2 separate regions of the Homo sapiens genome follow, and region 1 is linked to region 2. Evidence: promoter capture Hi-C in 16 types of primary human blood cells and fetal thymus (Javierre and others, 2016). All regions are on one chromosome and are shown on one strand. Each heading gives the region's core, a stretch centred on a gene start or on the middle of the fragment in contact. The rest is flanking DNA. Distances are from core to core; before and after follow the strand shown. Region 1 overlaps STARD7 (StAR related lipid transfer domain containing 7). Region 2 holds the start of LMAN2L (lectin, mannose binding 2 like).

Region 1 (6,410 bases), core at 451-2,950, 550 kb after region 2:
TATCTACCTGTCATCCACATTGCATAGCATTTAGGTAAACATTTGACTTAGAATTTCTTTATCTGTCCCATGGGGATGAGATCAGTTTTACCCTCCCACAGGACTGTTGGGAATATCAGATAGAGGAATGGATATGAATACTTTAATGTATTTTATGAGGCTTTATTGTTTTTTTCCCCAAACAACTTAAGAGTAAGTTACATACATCATAGTCCTTTACTCCTAAATTCTTCCAGTGTGTATTTCCTAAAACTAGCCATATGCCGTATTTCTTAACTAATCATGATACCATTATTGAAATTAGTAAATTTAACACTGATGGAACACTTTCATGTAGTCCTCTGTTTGTATTTATCAGTTTTATCAGTTGACTCAATGTCCTTTATAGCATTTTCCACTTCAGTACAGATAGGATTATATTTAGTTGTCACATCTGTTTAACCTCAAATCAAGAACATTTCCATAGTGGAGGGTTTTTTTTTTTCTTTCCTCTCCCTGAGACAGGGTCCTGCTGTGTTACCCAGGCTGGAGTACAGTGGTGTGATCATGTCTTGCTGCAGCCTTTGTTTCCTGGACTCAAGTGATCCTCCCACCTCAGCTTCCAGGCCTACAGGCATGCGCCACCACACTTGGCTAATTAAAATTTTTTTTTCTTAGAGACAGGGTCTCCCTATGTCTCCTAGGCTGGTCTTGAACTCCCTGGGCTCTAGTGATCCTCCTGCCTTTGCCTCCCAAAGTGCCGGGATTACAGGTGTGAGTCACTGTGTTGGCCCAATGTTTATTTCATAAAGATGAAGAGTATCTGTTCAAAGACTGCTTTCCTCCTTGTAGGGGAAGATGGTTTAAAAAATGAAACAGGGAGGTGGGATCGCCCAGAGTTCTAGAACAAAATTTTTTTCTTTCTGGATTTTTCATTTGTTTTGCTGACTTCCGATAACTACTTCGTTGGTTATAACACTCACTCTAACGTGCAAGTGCACTTTCCCTGAGGTACTGGATCTTGTTAATTTGTAGTGAATTTTTGTTGGTTTTATGTATATGGTATATCTGTCTTAAGTTGAAAATCTTCAGTTACTAGTGATGCCAGAAATTTAAAAAAATATGCTGCTTGCATTTTTGTGTGTGAAGTGTCTACTTAATACTTTTGGACTTTTTGTTGTTTAAAACTTTTTAGAATTGTCTTACCCTTACACATTCATATCACTATATATTATTTTCCCCAGATGTGTCTATTAAAATATTTTGTTACACTTTTCCTTGGTTTGTCTAATGAAGATTCACATTCAGTGTAATGACATTAGCCTGTATAAGGTGATTTTGAAAGAAACATCTGTAGTAAACACAGCCATGTCTCTCACACTCTGGCACTGTCTGTTAGGTCAGATTACTCTCTCCTTGTAATAAGATTCTTGGATCAGAGACCAAAGCATCTGGAAAGCTTTCTGCATTTTTGTTTTGGGTCTTCTTGGGTATTCATGGTCTTTTCTCTTTCTGCAGCTGGACACAGAGTATAGAAAAAAATGGGATGCCCTGGTAATCAAGCTGGAGGTGATTGAGAGGGATGTGGTTAGTGGTTCCGAGGTTCTTCACTGGGTAACCCATTTTCCTGTGAGTATTTTTACTTCTGATTTTATTTCTGTCCAGGTTTGTGTGATGCAGAACACTAATCCTGCTCCTCCATTTCTTTAGTATCCAATGTACTCACGGGATTATGTTTATGTTCGGCGGTATAGTGTGGATCAGGAAAACAACATGATGGTGTTGGTGTCGCGGTATGTATGGCTGCCTGTGGCTGTTGCCGAGTTCCTTTAGCTGTGGCCTTCATTCCTACGTACCTGAGTTTGTATATTCTTAGTGTCCTATGAGTCTCCCACAGGCTTCCCTGCAGCCAGTGCCCCTTCCATCCAGCTAGAAGATGAGGGACTCTGACTGTCTAGAAAGAATGGAGAGATACAAGCTTTTAGTTAAACTGTTTTTTTGGGTTCTTTAATGTTGGTAATCAAAAGAAGTGCTGTTGTTTTTGACCCACAGCCTAGTGAGCCGTAAATTACCAAAGGAACTCACTTCATTTTTAATTAATTCATTTGTTTGTTGTAGACGCAGGGTTTCACAGTGTGGTCCAGGCTGGTCTTGGACTCCTGGCCTCAAGTGATCTTCCTTCCTTGGCTTCCCAGTGTTGGGATTACAGGCATGAGCCACCACGTCTGGCCTTCGCTTCATTTTTAGAACTTAGTTTGTATTTATTCATCTTAGTGACTCCTTTGTTTTGTGTATTTAAAAATATCAGAGCCAGCTTTTTAGGCCTTCCCCTTAACTTAGCTCTCCTGTTGTTTTATATATAGACATTACTAAGAGTTTGCTTCTCCTTTCCTCCTTACCAGTGCTGTGGAGCATCCGAGTGTGCCAGAGTCTCCAGAATTCGTCAGGGTCAGATCATATGAATCCCAAATGGTTATCCGTCCCCACAAGTCATTTGATGAGGTGAGTTTTACCTCATCCAAGAGATAACATGTCATGGCTGTGGAATTTTCTCAAGGGATGTCTTACCTGAACTAGGGAGGAGGGGGTGTGGCGCAGGAACAGTTCTCGCTCGGGGGAGTCTGATGCTACTGGTCTGGGAACCATTTTTTGGGAACTCCTGACGTAGGTGATGTACCTGGAAGTTCCCCAAGGACAAAGTAGTGGCAATCCATTGGTTCCCTCTTATCTGAGAGATAGTTAAAAGAATCATAGCCACTGACGCATTAGCCTGTATCAGTAGCATTCTTCAGGAACTAGAGCGAGTACCTCCTGTCAACATTTTACTACAGTGGGCAGAGCACTGGATGGAAACTTTTCTGGATTTCTGCTTCCTTGCCAGAGTAATGGGAAGATTGGACTCATGCTGTCTGCCTTCTTTAAAATTCTGTGACCTTTCTTTGAAAAGAATATTTATTTCAGCCTAATGAGGTGTTTTGTGTTTATTTTTTATCTTTTTAAGCTAAATCTCCACTGAGAGTATAGATATTGATGCTAGTGGCTGCTGGTTTTAGTTCCACTTCACCTTATAATGGCTTTGTTTCTCCCTATTGCTTGTGTTCGATTTAGGGCTATATGGACAGTGTTCTTTAGTGTAGTTTTCTTATTCTCATCAAGTTGTTTTATTTATACCACCTCAAGGACTTGAGTTGGTCCTTGTAAAAAAAAACAAAAAAAAAAGTACACTGGATAGAGAGGAAAGCAGGCAGGGCACTAGGGTTAGAAGACATGATTCAAGCAAAGACAAAGATAGGAATGAGCCAGGTATGCACTGAGAGACTCACATGCTTAGAGAGGAAAGTAGAGGTTAGGGAGAAGTGATAAATTGCATTGACTGTGTACAGAGGGTACTCGAAAACCATGTAGCTGAGTTTGGATTTGCCAAATGGGAATTAGATCTTTGAGCCAAGGTAGGGGGTTTTTATCATGGAAAATTTGAAATAGATACAAAAGATACAGAAGTAGAAGAGTATAATGAACCCCCTGTATCCATCCCCAGCTCCAGTTATCAACTTATGGCCAAAATTGTTTTATCTATACCCTTTCCCATTTCCTTTCTCACTCCCCTGATTATTTTGAAGCAAATTCTAGCTTTACTGTAGGAGAACCCAGTTCTTCTATTATATATTTCAGTATTTATCTCAAATAAGGATTTTGGGTTTTTTTGGAAACAGGGTCTCCCACTGTTACCCAGGCTAGTGTGCAGTGGTACAATCACAACTCACTGCAGCCTTGACTTCCTGGGCTCAGGTGATCCTCCTGCCTCAGCCTCCTGAGGAGCTGGGATTATAGGCGTGTGCCAACATGTCAGGCTAATTTTTTGTATTTTTTGTAGAGATGGGGTCTCACCATGCTGCGCAGGCTGGTCTCAAACTCCTGGACTCAAGCAATCCTCCCACCTCAGCCTCCCAAAATGCTGGGATTAGAGGCGTGAGCCACTGTGCCCAGCCCAAGTAAGAAATTTGTAAAACAGCTCTGGGCCAGGCAGCATGGAGAGACCCGGTCTCTACAAAAAATAAAAATTAGCCAGGCATGGTGATATGTGCCTGTAGTCCCAGCTGCTTGGGAAGCTGAGGTTGGGAGAATCACTTGAGTCCAGGAGGTCAAGGCTGCATTAAGCCGTGTTTGTGCCACTGCATGCCAGCCTGGGCAACAGTTTGAGACCCTTCTCAAAAAAAAAATAAAAAATAAAAAAGCCAGGCGCAGTGGCTCACGCCTGTAATCCCAGCACTTTGGGAGGCCGAGGCATGTAGATAACTTGAGGTCAGGATTTTGAGACCAGCCTGGCCAACATGGTGAAACCCTGTCTCTACTAAAAGTACAAAAATTATCCAGGCATTGTGGCACGTGTCTGTAATCCCAGCCACTTGGGAGGCTGAGGCAGGAGAGAATGGCTTGAACCTGGGAGGCAGAGGTTGCAGTGAGCCAAGATCGTGCCGCTGCACCCCAGCGTGGGCGACACAGTGAGACTCGTCTCAAAAAAAAAAAAAAAAAAAGACACAGACTTAAATGTACTTAGTTTTTAAATATATTATCCTTATTGATGCTCAAATTGATTCCAGTTTTGGTCATTGGGAGTCTTCTTGTTGGCTCAAGCCCCTTTGACATGACCCCAGAAGCTGTCTTGCTTTCTGGTGTTACAAGATGTTGTAGGTTCATCTTGTATATTTTTAGTTTTACACCTGGAAATTAACATTTCTTTAGGGAGTCCTGGTTCCTTTTAGTGGAAAATGGCATTTAAATACCACAATTTGGCTGCTAAGAATATTCATAGCTATTGGGTCGTTTATTGTTTGTAGGCCTTTTCAGAAGACAGAACCAAGTAATACATTTTACTGGTATGTTTATTTTTAAGATAAAATAAATCCTAAGTATATACTAATACTTTTAATTCAAATTCAGGACTATGGAGTTTTTATTTCTATCTTCTATCTTTTGTCTTTCCCTGTACTGTAGAACTCAATTCCCAGGAACCCTAACACAACTACTAATTTGTTGAAATACACAGCCTCAGAATAACAATACAGTAAGATCACCAATAATACGAAGAATAAAATTTTGTGGTCTTTTTGTCTTCAGGATGTGCATACTGTGTACAAAATATTGATTTTTTTTTTTTTTTTTTGGAGACGGAGTCTCGTTCTGTTGTGCAGGCTGGAGTGCAGTGGTGCGATCTTGGCTCACTTGCAACCTCCACCTGCCAGGTTCAAGCAATTCTCCTGCTTCAGCCTCCCAAGTAGCTGGGATTACAGATGTGCACCACCACGCCTAGCTAATTTTTGTATTTTTATTAGAGACAGGGCTTCACCATGTTGGCCAGGCTGGTCTCGAACTCCTGACTTCAAGTGATCCGCCCGCCTCGGCCTTTCTGAGTGCTGGGATTACAGGCATGAGCCACCGTGCCCAGCCCCCAGCTAAGATTTATGACAGTGTCAGAGTAAAGATATGCAGCTGGATCATAAGAGAAAAAGGCACAGGAGGAGTCTGGAGGAGTCCATGTGAAGCTTCCTTCCCCAGCAATGAAATGTAGCAATATGTGTGCAATGTTTCTGTTTAGGAAGGCCATTAGAAATTTAACACTCTGGCTGAGCACGGTAGCTCATGCCTGTAATCGCAGCACTTTGGGAGGCTGAGGCAGGAGGATCTCTTTAGCCAAGGAGTTTGAGATCAGCCTGGGCAACACAGGGAAGACCCAGTCTCTGCAAAAAATAAAAAATTAGTTGTGGTGGTAGTGCATGCCTGTAGTCCCTGCTACACAGGAGGTTGAGGTGGGATGACTGCTTGAGCCCAGGAGGTGGAGGCTGTACTGAGTCGAGATTGCATCACTGCACTCCAGACTGTGCAACAGAGTGAGACCTTGTCTCAAAAAAAAGAAAAAAAAAACACCCAAAGTGTTTTTTTTGTTTTTTTGTTTTTGTTTGTTTTGTTTTGTTTTTCTGAGATGAGTTTCGCTCTTGTTGCCCAGGCTGGAGTGCGATGGCGTGATCTTGGCTCACTGCAACCTCCGCCTCCCGGGTTCAAGCAGTTCTCTTGCCTCAGCCTCCCGAGTAGCTGGGATTACTGGTGTGTGCCACCACACCTGGCTAGTTTTTTTTTTTCTTTGTATTTTCAGTAGAGACAGGGTTTTGCCATGTTGGCCAGGGTGGTCTCAAACTCCTGACCTCAGGTGATCCATCTGCCTCAGCCTCCCAAAGTGCTGAGATTACAGACGTGAGCCACCACACCCAGCCCAAAGTGTTTTTTAAAGACGGAGTCTTGGCTGGGTGCAGTGGCACACGCTTGTAATCCCAGCACTTTGGGAGGCCAAGGTGGGTGGATCACTTGAGGTCGGGAGTTCGAGACCAGCCTGACCAAGATGGAGAAGCCCCGTTTCTACTGAAAATACAAAATTA
Region 2 (6,564 bases), core at 1,228-3,727:
TATGGTGGTGGGATCTTCTTGACTCACTGCAACCTCTACCTCCTGGGTTCAAGTGATTCTCCTGCCTCAGCCTTCCAAGTATCTGGGATTACAGGCACCTGCCACCACGCCCATTTAATTTTTGTATATATATGTATATATATATTTTTCGAGACGAAGTCTCACTGTGTTGCCCAGGCTGGAGTGCTGTGGTGCGGTCTCGGCTCACTGCAACCTCCGCCTTCTGGGTTCAAGTGATTCTCCTGCCTCAGCCTCCTGAGTAGCTGGGACTACAGGCGTGTGCCACCACGGCTGGCTAATTTTTTGTATTTTTAGTAGAGATGGGGTTTCACCATGTTGGCCAGGATGGTCTTGAACTCCTGACCTCAGGTGATCCGCCTGCCTCCCAAAGTGCTGGGATTACAGGCCTGAGCCACCGTGCCCAGCCAAGACCCCATCTCTTTAAAAAAAATAGCTGTGACAGCTTTAATTTTAAAAAGTTGATCCCCTGTAAAGTAGGCTCATAATTATGTTTATCTTATTAAATATATTCATGCTCAGGAAAGCAAGAGAGTGTTAACTTTGGTTAAGTCTATTGGGAAGACATAAACACAGATCTGTCAATTGCTCTATATGAGATGTGCATGGAACACTTTGAGAGCTCAGACAGGAGAATCTACCCTGCCTGAGAGGTTTGAGAAGGACCTCCAGAAGGAAGTGGACTGCAGAAAAAAAAAAGAGGGAAGGGAAGCTGGAGCATAAAGATGGAGGAAAAGAGTCATGGGCAATAAGGCCAGGGCCAGATGGCAGGGGGCTTTGTGTGCCAAATTGAGGGGCTTGAATCTCCTCCCCACAGGTGATGGTGAGCCATCAAAGGCCCGGTTAATAAGAATGATGATGATGAAATAGCGCTTATGGCTTGGTGCGGTGGCTTACACCTCTAATCCCAGCACTTTGGGAGGCTGAGGAGAGAGGATCACTGAAGTCTAGAAGTATGAGACAAATCTGGGCAACTTAGTGAGACCTCCCCCACAACCCCATAGCTACAAAAAATAAAAATTAGCAAGGTGAGGTGGCACACACCTGTAGTCCCAGCTACTTGAGAGGCTGAAGTGGGAAGATCCCTTGAGTCCAGGAGGTTGAGGCTGTGGTCATGCCACTGCACTCCAGCCTGGGTGACAGAGAGAGACCCTGTCTCAAAAACAAAAACAAAAACAAAAACAAAAAAAAAAAGAAAAGAAAAAAGAAAGAAATAGTGCTTACTACACGCAAGGCACTGTTCTAAGAGGTTTACCAATATTGACTCATTTAACCCTGACACTTACCATGGTTAGATAGTTTGGATCACTTTAGTGGCTACGTGGAGACCAGTCTGGACACATGTTGTGGTGCCGGATAAAGACGAAGGGATGTGCCTGTAGTCCCAGTAACTCAGGAGGCTAAGGTGGCAGGATCACTTCAGCCAGGGAGGGAGAGGCTGGAGCTGAGATTGTGCCACTGCACTCCAGCCTGGGCAACAGAGCAAGACCTTGTCTCTCTTTTTTTTTTTTTTTTTGAGATGGAGTTTTGCTCTATGTGGCCCAGGCTGGAGTGCAATGGCTTGGTCTCGGCTCACTGCAACCTCTGCCTCCCAGGTTCAAGCGATTCTCCTGCCTCAGCCTCCCAGTAGCTGGGATTACAGGCACGTGCCACCACGCCTGGCTAATTTTTTTTTTTATTTTTAATAGAGACGGGGTTTCTCCACCTTGGTCAGGCTGGTCTCGAACTCCCAACCTCAGGTGATCCGCCTGCCTCGGCCTCCCAAAGTGCTGGGATTACAGGCGTGAGCCACCGCGCCTGGCCAAGACCTCGTCTCAAACCAAAAAGAAAAAAAAGAGGAAGGGAGGAAAGGAGGTGATGGCTTTTAGAATTAATTAATTTGTGTGCTTTCAGTTCTTTTATATCTGTAGGTTGCTTGATGGCCCAGACTATCACGGCAAAGGAGTCATTTGCATTTGAAGAGAATGTGTCTTCCGCAGTTGTTAGGTGGAGTTTCTATAAATATCATCAGGTCAAGTTAGTTGGTAGTGCTGTTCAAGTCTTTTATAAATTGATAGTTTTCCAGCTATTTTACGGATTTGTCTATTTCTCCTTTCACTGCTATATCTTCCAAATTGATTCAGAGAGCTGCAGTCAGGAGCGTACTATTGCAGAGAGGATAGAATGTTTGGGACCAGAAGAAACGTTTTATCTCTTTAAATTTACTCTCGTACGCAGAAAACAAAATACAAATAAACTACGTATCCCAGCAAGCCTAGTGGAACTCAGGGCAAATGCAAATAAGGGGGGGGGCTGGGCATTCGGCTACGCCCCTTTTCTGGGTTGGCAAGGCAACTGATACAGAAGCCAGCCAATCGGTGATATAGTCACCTGCAGGGGCGGGGGCTTGACGAAAGCCAATAGGACGCAGGGCAGATGGCTCTTCGGGCCAATGGGTTGGGCGACGGGGCGGGCTTTTGATGAAGGGTCGTTGGTGGGAAAGATGGCGGCGACTCTGGGACCCCTTGGGTCGTGGCAGCAGTGGCGGCGATGTTTGTCGGCTCGGGATGGGTCCAGGATGTTACTCCTTCTTCTTTTGTTGGGGTCTGGGCAGGGGCCACAGCAAGTCGGGGCGGGTCAAACGTTCGAGTACTTGAAACGGGAGCACTCGCTGTCGAAGCCCTACCAGGGTGAGGCGCCCAGGGTGAGGTGGTCGTGCAGTGGGGCGGGCTTCGGGACTTGATTTCAGGGGTAGAGGCGGGGGCGGCGAAGGGCTTCGTGGCCCGGAGGAAACTGCTGGCGGTGGTGGGGCCCACGGAGACTCCCTCCGCGTTTGGGAGCCACAGGTCTGAAAGGCAGGAGTTAGGTGTGCCTGCCAAGCTCTGGAAGTTTCCAGTAGGTAAAGGCAGGGCTGTCGGGTGCCACTAGTACTAGGCCTGGAGTTAGACAGGAGGAGTTTGGGAAGGGGAGAGAATTGAGAATGGTGAGGAGTGATTGAGGGCTACTAGCAATGAGCCAGTCTCCAGATGGACCTGTGGATGTGCTAGAAATAAAGCAGGAGGAAGAACTGGGGTAGAACTTGAACGAAATGAGAAGATGATAAATTTATGTTGCTGGGTAGAACCACCTTCTCTTCTCCAGCCTAGGGGCCCTGTTGGTGAAAGAGGTTAGGGTTCACAGAACTCTAAGCACAGCTTATCAGCCAGAAAATTAATGCAGTTAGCCACAAAACGATGACAAACCAGTGCAGATGGCTTAACTAACACAAGTCTTTCCCCACTAAGGCGTAGGTAGTGGGACAGAAAACAATTCAAAGTGCAAGAGTATACTCTACTACTAAGGGTAATCATTTATTCACTTACATGCCTGGAGTGCCTCTGTGCTGTCTCTTTGCTAATGCTTATGGGTTTGCAGACACAAAGTTTTCATTCTTAAAGAAGTTTATAGGTGAGGGTACAGGGAGTAGCTTCACACTTTAAGGATTGTTTAAAGAAAGAATGTGACGGCTGGGGCGGTGGCTCACGCCTGTAATCTCCGCACTTTGGGAGGCCGAGGTGGGCGGATCACGAGGTCAGGAGATTGAGACCATCCTAGCTAACACGGTGAAACCCCATCTCTGCTGAAAATACAAAAAAATTAGCCAGGTGTGGTGGCGGGCGCCTGTAGTCCCAGCTACTCAGGAGGCTGAGGCAGGAGAATGGCGTGAACCCGGGAGGCAGAGCTTACAGTGAGCCGAGGTCATGCCACTGCACTTCAGCCTGGGCAACAGAGCGAGACTCCATCTCAAAGAAAAAAAAAAAAGGAAGAATGTGACTAAGCCCCGGAGGCCTGAGGGTCAAACTCTTTTTATTTATATTTATATATTTTTAGAGACAAGGTCTTGTTCCGTTGCCTAGGCTGGAGTGCAGTGGCACAATCATGGCTCATGCAGTTTCAATCTCCTGGGCTCAAGCGATGCTCCCAACTCAGCCTCCTGAGTAGCTAGGACTATGGACAAGGACTACCACACCTGGCTAATTTTTTTTTTGGTAAAGACAGGGTCTTTCTATGTTGCCCAGGCTGGTCTCAAATTGCTGACCTCAAGATGCCCTCCCTCCACATCATCTCAAAGTGTGGGGATTACATGGGTGAGCCACTGCACCTGGCCTGTCAAACTCTTTTTGATATAACTCAGGAAAATTTTTTTCTTTTACGATGCTGAAGTTTACTCACATATAAAACGGGAAGAATGGATGTGAGCTATGGTTACTGTAACATGCATAAAGTGAGAGTTCTGATGTGCTTTGGGGTCCTTACCTGATAAAGGCCTTGTGAAAGCTGTAGAGATGGTAAGATTCATGACTGAGAGAAGATAGGAGATTGAGTGACATTAAAGGGGGAAAAAGATGATGGCTCAGCTTTCAGAGGCTCTGTGGTGGCTGCTTTCTGAATGGATTGGTGTTGAAAAGTATGAACTGATCTACTTCCTTCCTGTAGGTGTGGGCACAGGCAGTTCCTCACTGTGGAATCTGATGGGCAATGCCATGGTGATGACCCAGTATATCCGCCTTACCCCAGATATGCAAAGTAAACAGGGTGCCTTGTGGAACCGGGTGGTAAGAATCTTTCTCCCTCCTGTGTTGGTGACCCAGAAAGGCCTAAAAAGTTCAGCAGTGGCATACTGATTTAATTTTACTGTCTATCCCCCTGGTATTCTATCTTCTGTGGATATCAAGGATCTTTATTTTTGAGATTATTCTGACCTTGATAATAAATAAATCAGGTATTTAGGAAAATGCTCTCTATTTAATTATAGCAAATAATTCATTTTTTTTTCCTGAAATGTCGTTAATTCCTGATTGGCCCAATAGTACTACTTCTTAGGGTTTAATAATAACTTAACTCCTGCTTAACCACTTTGTAAGAAGATTATAAGAAGACCAGAGTGCAGTGGCACAATCATAGCTCACTGCAGCCTCAAACTCCTGGGCTTAAGGGCTCCTCCTGCCTCAGCCTCCTGAGTAGCTGAGACTACAGGCATGTGCCACTGCACCTGGCTAATTTTTAAAACGTTTTTTGTAGAGATGGGGTCTTGCTATGTTGCCCAGGCTGGTCTCAAACTCTTGGTCTCAAACAATCCTCCTGCCTTGGCCTCCCAAAGGTCAGGGATTATAGGTGTGAGCCACCGGTCCTGGTTGAGAGTACTCTTAAATTGATCCCAAACCTTATCCCAGCATCCCCATCTTGTTATTTCAATTTGAAGAGTCTGATATAAAATTTTATTTTCATGTGAAAGCCACTCTGAGCTGTTGGTCATTTTATTTGTCCTTCTCTGGACCTTTTCTAGCTGCATTGTCTTCCTTGAGGTATGGCGACAAGAAGTGAATGCAGTATTCCTGGTGTGGCTGCACTGTGATTTTGTACAAGTGTAAGATGATGCTTTCTTTTCTGTTTCCAGGGCTTTCTAAATCTTTTACGACCAGTTTACTTTTGGGCATGACTCTGGCATCCTTTGATACTTTCTCTGGAATTCTCTTAAACTAAGAACTTACTTTTTTACGTGGCTTTTCTCATTAGTTGTAGATAAGCGAATCTCAGAAAAGAGAACGATTTCTTTTCCCTGTTCAGGAGGGCAAGAGAAATTTCTACATTAGCTATCTGCACAAACTGGCCCCTTAACCTAGATCATAGTGCCGAGCTCATTTTTGGACAGAGTACAGAGCATTGTGTTTTCGTAGCAGAGATAAAGGACAGTTGAAAGACTGGGATTCTCGGTCCAGCTCTGTCACAGTCCTCCTGTGAGCCCTAGGCAGATTATTTAACTTCTTAGTTCTGTTTCTCTATCTGATAAATGAGCTTCAGAATACCTGTTTTACTTGCCCACTGGGGTTGTCGTGAGAATAAAATAGGACAATAGACATGAAAAGACTGTGGCAAGTTAAAATGGTTATAGAAATATGTGTTATGTTATTACACTTCTACAGGTTTGTTGATGGGGCTCTTGTGGGTTACCGGATGATTATGTTCAAGGCTTGATACTCTGCTGCTGTCTTGCTGGCTGTCTGTCTCTACATAACTTGTAGCAGCAGTTCTAGTATAGCCTCTAGTTCTTCCCTTTTTCGACTTCTGATACCTGTATTCGCTGTTATCTGGCTATCACCATGACTATGGGCTTGTTTCTGAGTTATTTGAATAGGATGCATTTGTTTCAGCAGTGGTTCTCAAATTTGGCTATCCATTGGAATCAATGCCTGGGTCTCATCCCCAGAGATTCTGATCTAATTGGAATAGGGTGCAGCTTGGCCATTGGGATTTTTTAAAACTCCGTAGGTGAATCCAGTGTGTGGCAGAATTTCAGAACCACAATTAGACATGGTCCTGAGCAAAACAGTATAGCATTGTGCTGTAGGAGGCCAGGAATCAGTGACAGACACCTCTTGGCTCACTGGGAACTTCTGTGACTCTGCCCTCTTCCCAGGGGCATAATACCTACCTCCTGGCAGCTTCCTGCCCCACTGAATTTCACTCTTTCTCTGAAAGCTATTTTTTTGAAACAGGGTCTCATCACTCTGTCGCCTAGGCTGGAGT

What was found. Contacts are between HindIII fragments. The CHiCAGO score rates a contact against its expected background, and 5 or more counts as called.
Region 1: a fragment that was not itself captured here is called in contact with the fragment with the promoter of LMAN2L in region 2 in 1 of 17 cell types (total CD4 T cells); the score reaches 6.2 in total CD4 T cells.

What each region holds. Positions count from the first base shown.
Region 1 is chr2:96,188,440-96,194,849 of GRCh38, reverse strand. STARD7 (StAR related lipid transfer domain containing 7) reads left to right here. Exons shown (of 8, transcript NM_020151.4): 4 at 1,498-1,608; 5 at 1,690-1,772; 6 at 2,382-2,481. Among named protein-coding and RNA genes, the nearest start is that of STARD7-AS1, 17 kb to the left of the region's middle. The HindIII fragment of the contact is 519 bases long and covers 1,441-1,959 here.
Region 2 is chr2:96,735,977-96,742,540 of GRCh38, reverse strand. LMAN2L (lectin, mannose binding 2 like) reads left to right here and starts at 2,477. Exons shown (of 8, transcript NM_030805.4): 1 at 2,477-2,687; 2 at 4,474-4,592. The coding sequence starts at 2,501. RefSeq lists enhancers at 2,224-3,161, 3,162-4,101. The HindIII fragment of the contact is 9,784 bases long and covers 1-6,564 here.